Linked DNA regions of Homo sapiens: region 2 is linked to region 1. Evidence: promoter capture Hi-C in human tissues and cell types (Jung and others, 2019). All regions are on one chromosome and are shown on one strand. Each heading gives the region's core, a stretch centred on a gene start or on the middle of the fragment in contact. The rest is flanking DNA. Distances are from core to core; before and after follow the strand shown. Region 1 holds the start of LRRC45 (leucine rich repeat containing 45). Region 2 holds the start of GCGR (glucagon receptor).

What was found. Contacts are between HindIII fragments. The study calls those that stand out against the background at their distance.
Region 2: a contact is called between the fragment with the promoter of GCGR here and the fragment with the promoter of LRRC45 in region 1, in 1 of the 25 tissues and cell types used here (mesendoderm cells).

What each region holds. Positions count from the first base shown.
Region 1 is chr17:82,021,894-82,024,911 of GRCh38, forward strand. LRRC45 (leucine rich repeat containing 45) reads left to right here and starts at 1,412. Exons shown (of 17, transcript NM_144999.4): 1 at 1,412-1,970; 2 at 2,385-2,446; 3 at 2,800-2,870. The coding sequence starts at 1,751. It overlaps CENPX (centromere protein X), which reads right to left and starts at 985. Exons shown (of 5, transcript NM_001271006.2): 1 at 933-985. The coding sequence starts at 968. RefSeq lists a silencer at 676-1,725 and an enhancer at 1,462-2,385. The HindIII fragment of the contact is 20,224 bases long and covers 1-3,018 here.
Region 2 is chr17:81,802,422-81,805,399 of GRCh38, forward strand. GCGR (glucagon receptor) reads left to right here and starts at 1,729. Exons shown (of 14, transcript NM_000160.5): 1 at 1,729-1,828. It overlaps LOC105376789 (a long non-coding RNA gene), which reads right to left and starts at 2,324. Exons shown (of 4, transcript XR_001753046.3): 1 at 2,237-2,324. RefSeq lists an enhancer at 1,198-1,697. The HindIII fragment of the contact is 39,466 bases long and covers 1-2,978 here.

The sequences.
Region 1 (3,018 bases), core at 162-2,661:
GCCCCCCACGCCTGCTGCCTTGGGTGATAAAGAAGGGCCTGATTCAGGAGAAACAGAATTCTCCCTGCTTCTACAGGGCTGAAGTCCTCCCTCCAGGATGGGTTCACAAGGGCCTGAGACCCTCCCTTCCCAGGCCACAGAGGCCCACGAGGCCCTGCTGACATCGAGGAAGCTCGGTGCCCCAACCTTCAGGTAGAGCAGTAGAAAGGTTCAGAAACCACTCTGCCTGCACCGATGGGGTCCTCTGCACATGGCACCCCCAGAGAGCTCCACTTCCAGGAACAGGGAAGAGCAGGGCACGCCCTCCAGCCTGGGCGGATCCTGGCTCAGACGGCCTAGGTCTGACCCTAGCCCTGCTGAGTCACTTAACGCCCCCGTGCCTCAGTTTCTCCACTGGCAGGTGGGGTTAATCCCTGTCAAGTGTGTGTAACGTGGAGCACCGAAGAAACCACGCGTTCCTAGCCCAGTGCTGGCGCCCACCGGGGAGCAAACAAAAGGGAAACCACTGTGCCTGGCGGCTGGGGTAGGTCCTGCCGGCTCCTCGGGCTGGACGATCTCACTGTCCCCGTCCTGGGGCCTCATCTCCCCTTAACAAAAGACCCCAGGCTCAGGGCGCAGGGCGGCGGCCCAGCTCCTCCTCTCTCTTCGCCGGCTTGGACTCCGCCGTGACGGCGCCCACCCCTGCCTGTTTCTGCAGACCCTCTCCACCTTCCCGCAGCCCCGGCTGCTCCACGCCCCCTCCTACCAGCTGCGAGACACCAGCCCACGAGGGCGCGGGGCGCGCGGCCCGGCCGGAGATGGAGTCTGAGAACGGGCCCAACCTCAAAGGCACAGGGGGCGGCGCGGGGGCTGGCGTCTGGCCCTCACAGTGTCACGCGTGAGGTCGGGACGGAGCGTCCGCGCCTGCCTAGCCCCTGCCCTCCGGCCCTCACCTTCCGGAAGCCGGATCCAGCTCCTGCTCCCTCCATGACCGCAGCCTCAACGCGCGCCCACCGGAACCCCGCCCCGCGCCTCCAGCCAATGAGACCGGAGCGCGCCCCCGGAGCCCCGCCCCGCGCCCCTAGCCAATGAGTCCGAAGCGCCTGCTCTCGGAGCCCCGCCCCCACGTCTCAGCCAATGAGCCCGGAGCGCGCCCTCCAGCAGCCCCTCCCTCACGTCCCGCAGCCAATGAACTTGGAACGCGCCCTCCCGGGGCACCACCCTCACGACCCTCAGCCAATGAGCCCGGAGCATGCCCTCCCGGGGCCCCACCCTCATGCCCCTAGCCAATGAACCTGGAGCGCGCTGCCCCCTCTCAGCTTGCGGCCCGAAAGGCGCGCCAGTTCCTTTGTTCTCATTGGCCCGCACCAAGCGCTGCCTGCGCAGAGCCTGCTAGGAGTTGTAGTTCCCGCGGCCTCTCCCGGCGCGCCTTGTTCTTCCTGGATACTGAGGCCCCGACGCGGCTGTCGCGAGGGCGGGGGTCGGGGCTGCAGGCGGGGCAGGGCTGGGTGGGGGCGCGCGACGCACCTGCCTGCTTCCTGCACGGGTGGTCCCCAAGCACTGCGGGGCCCCAGCCCAAAGCGGACCTTGACTACCGCCCAGCCCCGCGCTCCCAGGACCTCCCGCCCGCGGAGCCCACTCGGATTGCTCTCCGCCCGGGTCGGCGGAGGCCCCGTCTCCTGTACCCGGCGCTGGGACTGCTCCGCACCGCGCGGCTCCCTTTCAGCAGCTGCGGGAGCATGCGGAGGAGGCCCTGCCGGCCCCGCGGGTCATGGAGGAGTTCCGGCGCTCCTACAGCCGCCTGTGCAGGGAGAGTGGGGCCGAGCCCCAGGAGGCTGTCCTGCAGCAGCTGCACCAGCTTCCCAGGGGCCGGCTGGACCTGGCCACGCAAAGCCTGACGGTGGAGACCTGCAGGGCCCTGGGCAAGCTGCTGCCGAGGGAGACGCTGTGCACGGAGCTGGTCCTGAGTGACTGCATGCTCAGCGAGGAAGGTGGGCAGGCGCGGCGGGGTGGATCCCTCTGCTCCTTAGCTGCCCACACCATTGCCTCGGCAGCCCGAGGTCGCTTCCTCTCCAGGCTCTCCAATTTCTGTGCCGTAGTTAAAGCGAGCAGGGGCGCCCCTTCCTGCACCTGGGAGTAGAGGGCAGTTCCTCTGTATGACGGGGGAGAGGCCTTAACATTCGCGGTCTTACCTGGTTCCCCGCGTGCAGAGCCGGCTTGGTGCCTGGCAGGGGCTGCAGGTGTTTCAAACATGACTTCGCAGCGAGACTCTTGGCCAGCGCCAACCCAGACCATCGGGACAGTTGTCCCTTCCTGGGTCTAGGGAGCTGCCCTGAAAAGGGGCCCACGGGGAGGGCCTTGGGGTCAGCAGGGGCAGAGAGTGACCGCCGGCCCCCCTTACACAGGGGCCACACTGCTGCTCCGAGGCCTGTGTGCCAACACCGTGCTGCGCTTTCTGGACTTAAAGGTGAGATACCTGCACTCTTGAGTGTCCGAGTGTGCCACCCAAGGGCAAGAGGAGAGGTGGAAGATGCCAGGTCTCGGGGGCCTGGGGTCTGGGCAGGTGGCTGGAAGCTGTCTGTGAGTCCCCAGGCCGCTCTCTGATGGCCTCCTGTGTGTGACCATCTCCAGAGCAAGAGTTCACATTGGCAAACAAGCCGGCCCTTGGAAGCCCCCTGAAGACAGGGAGCCCAGGAGCTGAGGAAGGCTGCAGGGTGCACCCCAGGCTTGTCCCCTGGCTGACCAAGGCCCTTGGGGCATGGGCGGGAATTCAGAGCCAGTCAGGGCACGCGAGTGACTACCGGCCTGTTTCTCTCCTAGGGCAACAACCTTCGGGCTGCAGGGGCCGAGGCTCTGGGAAAACTCCTCCAACAGAACAAGTCCATTCAGAGGTGGGTGGTGGTCCCGACCCCAGGCCCTGTCTCTGTGTGGTTGAGGATTGGCCCCGAGCACATGCTTCTGCAGCCCAAGAGTTCCCCATTGCCAGGTGCCCATGTTTCACATACGTTGGCAGGGGTAGGCAGAGGCTCCGGCCCATCA
Region 2 (2,978 bases), core at 479-2,978, 220 kb before region 1:
GCTGAGGGAGGGTTTGGGTGGAGAGGGGAGAAGATGCAGTAGCAGGAGCAGATGCTGGCAGGTAGAGACAAACTTTTATGACCTTTGCCTTCTGACCTTTGCCTCTGGCCACTGCTCCAACTAAAACAGAATGGCCCCCTCTGGGAACAGGGCTTCCTATGGGCTGGGAAGCATGGAGCCCCCACAGTGTGGCTATGCAGGGGAGTGAGGACCAGGTGGGGGCAGGCCTGTGGGGGTCACAGAGCTGGGCTAAGCTTCAGAGGGAAGTGGCCCCTGGGAGGGGGAATGGCTGGGGTTAAGACCCTGGGTTCCCACGCCCCCAAAACAGAAGTAGAATTAGGGAGAAAGGACCCCCAAGACCAAGGACGGCACCTATCAGAGGAGCTCTCCACGGGCAGGAGGTGTCCCAGGGTGAGGGTGGCCAGGACAGGTCTAGGGAAATGCAGGTGGAGCAGGACCCAGAGATGGATTGGAGATGCCGGAGGGGAGGCTTCCTAGCGGGAGCGGAGACAGGCACTGCAGACAAGTGTCAGCGGGAGGGGCTCTGGGTGGGGAAGAAGACTGGGACTTGGAGGAAGACCTCTCCAGGGAGAAGGGAGGAGGGGGAAGGAGAAGGGGAGGAAGTGGGAGGAGGAGAGTGCTCATCCTGGAAGCCACAGCCTCGGAGAGAACTTTCTAGAAGGAAGGCATGACCATCAGTGTCCCAGGATGCTGAGAGGCCAGGAAAGGTGAGGCCTCAAGGCGCCATGGGGTTGTGGTGACCCCAAGATCACTGGGCACAGAGCAGGGATGGCTGGGGGTGGAAGGGGAGGGGCGCGGGCTGAGGTTCTAGGGCCCCAAAGCCAGGTGTGATGTGGCTCTAGGGGGAGTGAGGAAGGGGAGAATGTCCCTCTGAGCGTGCCTCTTGGGGAAGGCAGGGGTTCTGGCTGGGGCTTCTCCACTCCCAGGAAAGGAGGTGGTGTGGAAGGAGCGGGTGGGACGGAGGAGAGAGCGCCCCGCGGCCGCAGGACCAGCAGGTGGGGGACCAGGGTCAGCGCTGCTGGAGGGGCCTTAGCGCGACAGGACTGGCCAGAGACCGGGGATGTGGCACAGAAAGAGTTAAAGGGCACCCCAGGGACCGCCCTGCCGGTCCACCCATGTCACCCATGTTGGCCCCTACTCCAGCCCCCGTCTGCTCTGCAGGGGAAGGAACCGGGAGCCGCGGTGGGGGCGACTGGGGGTGTCGGTCTTTCCAGAAAATCAGGCAGGCATCAGGAAAGAAGGGGCGAGAACCCGGGGACGCGAGAGGAAGGGGGCGAGGGGGCGCCCAGGGAGGCGGAGGGAGCGAGAGGAAGGGGGGCTGAGCCACGGCCCCCACGCCCGCGCGCCCCTCCGCGTCCCAGGGCGTCCCCTCCCGGAGCTGGGACCCACCGCGACCACCACCTGCTGGGCCAGGGTCCGCGGGCTCAGGGGTCTGCAGGATTAGGGTCTGCGGAACCAGGACCCGTGGGACAAAGGTCTGTGGGGCGCGGGTCCGCGGGGTGGAATTCAGCGCGCCGAGTCTGCGTATGGCCGGGGTACGAGGCGCTCCCTGCGCAGGGTGGGCAGGACCGAAGCTCGCCGGGAGGCTGCGCGGAGGGCGGGCGGGGACCCTCGGCTGCCGCTCCCACCCCCGCGGGGCCGCCCCCGAGCCCGCCCTCCGCCGCCGCCCTCGCCCTGCGTCGCCGCCGGAAAGTTTGCACCGACCCCGATCTGGCAGCGCCGCGAAGACGAGCGGTCACCGGCGCCCGACCCGAGCGCGCCCAGAGGACGGCGGGGAGCCAAGCCGACCCCCGAGCAGCGCCGCGCGGTGAGCACCTGGGCCGCGGCCCCGAGGGGACGTTGGGGAGTCGACCCGGTGGGGACAGAGACCGCGGGGCGGGCGCGGCGGGGCCGGGGGCGCGGGGAGCGGGGAGCCGGCCGGGCGGTCTCCGGGGTCCGGGCTGGTGCGCTCCTCAGTCCCGTCAGACACCCCCGTTCCCAACCCCGGCTCGGACACCACCCGGTCCTGCACCGTCGGGCAGGTCCAGGGGTCTCAGCCCCTCCCCCGTTCTCTGGTCCTGGGGGGCGCGGCTGGGGGCGGGGGTGTCGCTGGCCGCCTGGCGCCCTGCGGCGGCCACACTGCAGCGGCCACACTCCCCACTCAGGGCCCCGGGCCCCGCCGCCCTGGGGAGCGCACAAAGCGCCGCGGACGCGTCCCCGAGGCGCGGGGTCTCACCAGCGCTGTCTCCCCTCGGTGGGCTCCTGCCCCGAGGACTGCCCGGTGGCACCGGCGCGGCCCAGGATGGGGTGAGGGGTGTCTGCGCCCCGCCTGGCCGCTCCTCTTCCGCGGCCCACACTGGCGACTTTGACCCCGGCAAGCGGGTCACTGCCCTGCCCGGCTCCGGCCCCCCCGGCGCCCCACCACCCGGCCGACTCGGCCACCGGGCTTATGCTCCGACTCTGAACCGACTGACCCCGGCCCCCTCGGCGCCCGCATCCTCCAAGGACCGGCCAGGGCTGCTCTCTGCCCTTGGTATTGGGGACATCAGGGTTGGGGGGTCTGGGTGCACCCACGCCTGCCCCGCCCCCACGGGGTGAGGGCGCAGGGATAGGGCTTTGTCAACAGCCTGTGGCCCCTGATCCCGCCCCGGTGCCCTGACCTTCCACTACCTTCTCTGGTTTCACAAAAACATCCCGGCTCCCATCCCGGAGCTCCTCAAAGCGTCTGAGAGGCCCCTTGCGGACGCCCTGGGAGCCCCGCTGCCTTCCTGGACCAGTGGCCGCTCCACCCATCCTGGGGGCCCAGCTCCAGGTCTGCGGGTCCCTCAGCCGCCCCCAGTGGGAATCGGTGGAGCCTGACGCAGCCAGGAGCGCCCAAGAGTCACGTGTTCTGCCAGGGAGGACATGGGACAGGACACGGGGTGCCAGCCCTGCAAAGCGGCCGGGGCAGTGGAGCTCAGGTGGCCCTAAGCCCTGGT